2 separate regions of the Homo sapiens genome follow, and region 1 is linked to region 2. The links are contacts of gene promoters, found by promoter capture Hi-C in human tissues and cell types (Jung and others, 2019). All regions are on one chromosome and are shown on one strand. Each heading gives the region's core, a stretch centred on a gene start or on the middle of the fragment in contact. The rest is flanking DNA. Distances are from core to core; before and after follow the strand shown.

Region 1 (3,227 bases), core at 97-2,596, 41 kb after region 2:
CAGGTTAATATATGGCATTTTTTATTTGATCAGAGATGATTGAACTGTTTTCAAGAATCTGTAGTTTGTATTTCCAGAGCAACCATTGTATTATTTTAGGGACTGTACTCACTATGTAATGACAGCTCCTAACGTTGAGTGTGAAGAACCTTCTTATAGGTCTGAAACTGAGAAAAGGAAAAAAGCATGATAAATTCCTAGGGTGATCTCATTGCTTGTATCTGTTGAGTGTCTATGTGATCAACAGAGACCTTTCTGTCAATTGATCAGATGATACATTACACATTTTCTTACTTGGTTTTTTAGGAAAAGTAACTGCAGCACCAAAGAGTGCCTGTTGATTCTCAACAAACCAGTGGGTATACTGGAAACTGAATTTAGTTCTTAAAAGTATTTGCCTTCAAAGTGAAGGTCCAGTAGAAGTTTTGTTTATCACAAATCAAAAAAGCTTTTAGGATAGATCAAAGCCCTAACTAAATGAATGGTGTCTTTTCTTGTTTTTCCTCTACATTGATGACTGCCTTCCATTTCTTAAATGTTTCGCTTTTTTTGGCCTATTACATTGCCCCTGCTGCTTATTTCTTCCTATTGTTTTTTTTTTTTTTTTGGAGTTGGGAGTCTTGCTCTGTCACCCGGGGTTGAGTGCAGTGGCATGATCTTGGCTCACTGCAGCCTCTGCCTCCTGGGTTCCAGCGATTCTCCTGTCTCAGCCTCCTGGGTAGCTGGGATTACAGGCGCACGCCACCTCGCCCTGCTAATTTTTGTATTTTTGGTGGAGATGGGGTTTTACCATGTTGACCAATCTGGCCTCGAACTTTTGACCTCAGGTGATCCGCCCACCTTGGCCTCCCAAAGTGCTGGGATTACAGGCGTGAGCCACCACGCCCAGCCCCTATCATATTTTCTTTTTTACCATCTTACTATAAATACCATCCTATCATCTTTTTATAAATAATATTTTGTAAATGGTTTGCCCACTAAACAATTGCAATTATGTTTCTTCTTTTTTCTATTAAAATATATTTTGAAAGTAGAAGAAGCTGCCATTTATTGAGCACATACAATATATCAGATACTTTATATCTCATTAATTCACATATTAATCTTATGACATAGATATTCTTCCTTTTTTACAGATGAGAAAAGTGAGATTGACAGAGGTTAGGTAACTTGCCCAAGACTACAAGTTAATAAGTAGCAAAGCAAAAGATTTTTTAACTCAGATCTCTCTATCTTGTATTCTTTCTATAAAATAAAGCTGAATTTTTGTTGTCATTGGCTGTTGACAAACTAACTCTTGGTTTACCTAAGATAAGTTTCTTGCTTAAGTAACAGAAAATATCATACTGGGGACATCTGAATTGTAGTTTTTATTGTTCCTTTTTCATAAGTAGGAGAATGGCCTCTTAGTGACTTCTTTGTCTTTGGAGAGATCTGAGCTATACAACCTAATTGAGTCAGGGCTACCACATATGGTGGTGCGAATTGTCATTTGCATGAATGGAGCTTCTTCGAATTGTGCAGTGTATCATCTGCATAGGGTTTACTGTGGGCCTGATATGAACTACTAAAGTGATTATACTTAAAAAGAGATTAGCTTTTTTCTTCCAAATTCAAAGACACCGTTGCTTAGTTGTTCTCCCAAGACTAAGCATTTTTTTTCTGTTTTTAGGGGAGACATCAAATTTTTGTTTGGGTAGCCCCTAAAATTTTTTTTATAAACTACCTACTTGAACATTTTTTAGATTGATATCTAAAATTTTTCATCAAAAATTTAAATACTTGTAGTTATGCAGTTTTTAACATATATGCTGGCTGACTTTTAAAACTGAGATGTTACATTATTCTTTCAAATGTACCCTTTGGAATGATACCTACCATCGTCCTTTTGCAAAACACACAAATACCCCTTCTTTAACATTTGGGAAGTTTACATTTTTCATTTTTCTATTTGATGGCATATCCCCTTTCCTTAATGTAATAATAAAATATATGCTTACACTAGAAACTCTTTTATCACTCTATTGTGCTTTTCCATGACCATAATATATAAAATGAAATGTTAAAATTTGTTTTATTATCTATGACTTTAAGTCTCTAAATAGTATATTTTCTTTTGAATGAAGCCATCAATCATTACAACTTTTTCTCTCTCTCTTTTTTTTTTTTTTTTGAGACAGACTCACTCTGTCACCCAGGCTGGAGTGCAGTGGCATGATCTTGGGTCACTGCAGCCTCTGCCTCCCAGATGCAAGCGATTCTCATGTCTCAGCCTCCTGAGTAGCTGGGATTACATGCATGTGCCAACATGCCCAGCTAATTTTTGTATTTTTAGTAGAGACGGGGTTTCACCATGTTGACCAGGCTGGTCTCAAACTCCTGGCCTCAAGTGATCTGCCTGCCTAGGCCTCCCAAAGTGTTAGGATTACAGGCGTGACCATTGTGCCTGGCCAATCACTACAGCTTTTATTGTTGGTATAAAATTGGTCAAAACAACATAAACATCATGAATTTTGGTATTTATGTGAAGTACGTTTTTATTGGAAATACATCTTTCAGTGAAATGAATGGGCTGTCTCCTCTCCCCACTATAGTTTTGTATCTGAGTTGAATATGATTCATTGTTAGAATATGATAATGTTCAGATAAATTTCATTCTTAGTTTTTATTTTCATACATATAATTGCTGAGAAACATTGTTCACATAAAGTAGATTAGAATTACTTGTAAGAATTCTGCTAAAGCAGTATCATTCTGTTTTGCTTTATTTTGCTTTTACTCTTTTTAACCTTCTGAGTTACATGTCAGAAATTATTGTTTGTTAGATTTTATTTTCCAGGTGGTAGTTGTTAACATTATTATTTCATATAACAGTTTGTAATTTGCAAATCCCTTTAACTTTTTCTATCTGTCTTACTTTCTCATCACATGGAACAAGCATATCATATGTTTTCTTCCTTTTGTAAGTGAGGAAATTTAAATTTAGAAAGGTTACATGTCTTACCTTAAGACCTACAGAGTTGGCCGGGCGCAGTGGCTCACGCCTGTAATCCCAGCACTTTGGGAGGCCGAGGCGGGCGGATCACGAGGTCAGGAGATCGAGACCATCCCGGCTAAAACGGTGAAACCCCGTCTCTACTAAAAATACAAAAAATTAGCCGGGCGTAGTGGCGGGCGCCTGTAGTCCCAGCTACTTGGGAGGCTGAGGCAGGAGAATGGCGTGAACC
Region 2 (3,713 bases), core at 75-2,574:
GTGTGATCTTTTGCTCATGTGGGGCTAGGTTTCTGTGGAGAAGCTGGAAATGCTGTGGAAAAGGGCTTGCCCCTTTTGTGTATATGAACTCTAATGTAGTTGAAATTCCTAGAAGTCAAAGATATAAATCTAACTACTAAAATTCATTTAGTGCATTAAAATGCCAGTTATTAATTTACGGCAACAACTAAAGGGAAGCTTTGTATTATTCTAGGACTACAATGCAATTTATGCTTTGCATAATCATTCAGTAAATGACTTATTGCTCCAGAAATACCATCTTGCTAGATCCCATTCTGAATTCAGTGTTTCTGAGCAATCTCATCTCCAATACAGAGTGATGACATACTCAGGATTCCAAGACGGCAAAATGACTTGGGTAATGTAGTCTAGGGCCTGCCAGTGAGTATGCTGAGACAGACCAGAAAGACTTAAAGATTCCACTAATGTAGACAAAGCAAGCTGAGCCACAACTTCTCGGAACACCAACAGGATGCACCAACAATCGACAAAAAAAAAAAAAAAAAAGGAGATAAAGTTTAAAGTTTGTCTTCCAGCATTCCCTTACCCTATTTTCCCCTTCCTCTTCCCTACTTTATCAGTGGGAAAAGTTCTCAATAATGCAATTCTTACTGAGATTCTTGTGTTTATCAGAGAAATGTTTCCTCTTTCTTTGCCAAGGAATTATATATTCCCAACAGACATGGCGCTTGAATGCTATATTTCCTTTGGAATCAAGAAAGGGGAGGTGGGGGAATCAAAAATTAAAAACCAAACCCAAGCCATTGTTCCTCTTCGAGGAAGGGTGGGTGGTCAGTCGTCGCCTGAGCTCCGAACATCAACCCGCGGCTCTCAAGTTCCCCTCCCAGTAATGCTGGGCCCAGCCTCGCCGCGGCCGATCCAGCCTCTGCCCTAGGTGGAAGCGGGCCACCCGGTCCCTTCACCCACTGAGGCCCAGTCCTTTCGCCTCAACACGAAGGCACCTGGCCGGGCCGGAGCAGCAGCCGCGGGGCCGGCACTGGGGCCACGGAACCCCGGGCCAGACTCAGGCCTGGGCCAGCTCGGCTCCGGCCTGCAGGGGGCGCTGCGGCGGCACCGGCGCGAGGCCCGCGCGTGCGGGGAGCGACCCCAGGTGTAAGTCCCGGGGCGTGGGGCGCGTGGGTCAAGGCGGAGCGACCCAGGATCCCCGCGCCCGCGGCGGCCGCCGAGTGGCAGCGCTGGACTCGCGGAGAAGCTTGGGTACCTGAGCCGCGGTCCCGGGTGACACCCTCAGTGACGCCAGGCGCGTTCCTTCCTCTTCCTCTCTCCTCTCCGGCCCCGCCTTCCCTTCCCTCCGCCCACCTCCCTGAAGCGGAGCCGCCGTCGCCACCAGCGCCGTCATGTCGGCCCCCGCCGGGTCCTCTCACCCGGCCGCCAGCGCCCGGATCCCGCCCAAGTTCGGCGGAGCGGCCGTCTCAGGAGCCGCAGCGCCCGCGGGCCCGGGTGCGGGCCCGGCGCCGCACCAGCAGAACGGTGAGGCGGGCGGCCCGGGCGGAGCGCGGGGCCTAGCACCGGCTGGGCGGCCTGCACGGCCACATCGGGGCGGGGCGGGCCGGGCCGGGAAGGGCGTTCGGGGCCAGGCCCGGCCCGAGGGACGGGAGCGGGCGCGGTGCGGAGGCCGCGGGGTCCGGGTTGGGTGCGGGTAGGGGGCAGGGAAGGCACGGCGCGGGGCGCGCGGGGGTGGGACGCCCCTGGCGTGGGGGCGGGGGCCGGCCTGGGAAAGCTGGGGCCGTGGCTGTTTATGTAATGCGACCCCAGGCCCGAAACGGCCTCGGGCGAGTAGGGGCGACTGAAAAGCTGGGAGCCCACGTAGTAAAACCCAGTTACCTAGCCTGGACGCGGGCGAGTTGCCCCGAGCGACCCCTTGGCTGCGAGAGCTGGCCAGAAGCCGAGGCCGCTGAGTGCGTGGTCCGGAGAAGGCTGGTGCAGCCACCCAGCAGGGTGGATTGTGCCCTTCCTGTCTCAGGAAAATTGCTTCGGTTCCCGAGGCCCAGCGAACACGCTGCCTTGAGGAAACTTAAGTTTGCACTCAAGTTTGTAGACAAAAGGGTGTAAATATGCTATATAAGTGTAACTGTAACCCTGACCCAGTTCGGCCTCAAGAACTGTCATTGCCGCTGCGGCTGCTGCTCAAGCTTTTGGAGTTTGCTTGTAGTGTTTGAAAGGGAGCAGATGTAAACGGATTTAAACGAACATCTTTAGATCTGGGTGTTTTTCCTAGCTCCACTTTCAGAGATGAAAAAACGTGCCAGAGTTGGCCCTGCTTTGAGGCAGGGCCTTCATACAGGCAGCAGCCAAATGCAGCACGAAAGCCGCTTTCATATTAAGGTCGTGGGCTTTTAGTAGGCTGCAAAATGATGGATATGCATTCCCTAATGCTGAGATTTGGAATGTTCGCGGATAGGGGCCAAGGGTGGAGGAATTCTCCTTACAGACTTCTTAGTATGTCAGATGAGAACCTTGGAAAGTAATTGACTGAATTTAGAAAAATACCTCTGTCCTGTGTTGGTACGAGAACCAAACTGCATTAGTACTCTCCAGATGATTGACCTGTTTTATCTAATTTCCTAATGAAAATCTGCTGGACTTTATGAATTAGTTTAATCAACATCTAAGTTTTACAACTGATGCTTTTCAAACATGAAGTGTATCGTTTGTCCTGAGGATCAGAAGTTGAGTGATACTTTAGCCTTAATATTCTTTGGATCAGCCTTACCTATCAGTATTACATGCTGTACTCTCAGTAGTCATTGTTTACTATAATCGCTTTTGGATATAAACCTGTTCTGAACAAATGTAAAAATACTATTTGTGAGCAGTGTTTGTTCTTGTAACCTTAATATAAGTTCTTGTTTTTGTTTGTTTTTAAAATAGCTTTATGAAGGAACTAGAACACGATAATTTAGTAAAAGAGCCCAAGTCTTTTAGAACATTGTAGACTCATGTTTACCAGTGATTCAAGGATTGTGTCTTTCCTTGATTTTCTGAATATGCATTATCATCTTAGTGAACAGTTTTTAAAGTGGCAAATGTTTATTACAGCCTTATAAATTTTGTGAACACTCAAGAATGCCAGGATATGTACTCAGCCAAGTGTAATCAGGATGTTAAAATCTGTAAGAACAAATCAATGTTTTGATGCCAAATATAGATGATGCTTGAGTTCTCTTGTTTATAATCACTACTTTCCTTTAATGTTGCAATAATCATTTCAACATTTATTGCATGCTTACCAGTTGGGGACTCAAGGTTAGGGTAGCAGATGAGACAGAGTCCCTGCCTCTCTCCTGACTTGCCCTGTATTTGGTAATGTTTGAATTGGTTCTGGCTAGCCTTGAGGGACTCGACAGGTTGGGGTGGGAGGGAAAGGTTGACTCTAGGCAGAGGTTACAGCATGAACTAAAGTTTGGAAATATGAAAGTGCAGGGCATGCTTGGAAAGTGGAAGGAGTCAAGAGGTGCAGAGGGTGCTGGGTGGCATGGGAAGCCAAGGCATCGAAGCCGAAAGGAGCAGGTTAAAAGGGGTCAGGTTGCAGAAAGGCCTTAAATGTTATGCTAGGAAATTTGAAAGTTATGGTAAAGTGTAAGAACTAGGGTCAGGTAGAGTACGAGGTCTCCCTGTGTTGCCCAGGCTGGTCTGCTGGGCTCAGGTGATCCTCACACCTTATCCTCCAG

The links. The method cuts DNA at HindIII sites, captures the fragments that hold promoters and counts their contacts. A contact is called where the count stands out against the background at its distance.
Region 1: a contact is called between a fragment that was not itself captured here and the fragment with the promoter of SEC24B in region 2, in 1 of the 25 tissues and cell types used here (hippocampus).

Annotation. Positions count from the first base shown.
Region 1 is chr4:109,473,834-109,477,060 of GRCh38, forward strand. The region is part of intron 3 of SEC24B (SEC24 homolog B, COPII component); the gene reads left to right. Among named protein-coding and RNA genes, the nearest start is that of MIR576, 13 kb to the right of the region's middle. The HindIII fragment of the contact is 4,080 bases long and covers 1-3,227 here.
Region 2 is chr4:109,432,491-109,436,203 of GRCh38, forward strand. It overlaps SEC24B (SEC24 homolog B, COPII component), which reads left to right and starts at 1,325. Exons shown (of 24, transcript NM_006323.5): 1 at 1,325-1,512. The coding sequence starts at 1,380. SEC24B-AS1 (SEC24B antisense RNA 1) reads right to left here and starts at 1,327. Exons shown (of 3, transcript NR_039978.1): 1 at 1,244-1,327. RefSeq lists silencers at 955-1,344, 1,395-1,664, 2,043-2,337 and enhancers at 1,219-2,078, 2,155-2,304. The HindIII fragment of the contact is 2,513 bases long and covers 717-3,229 here.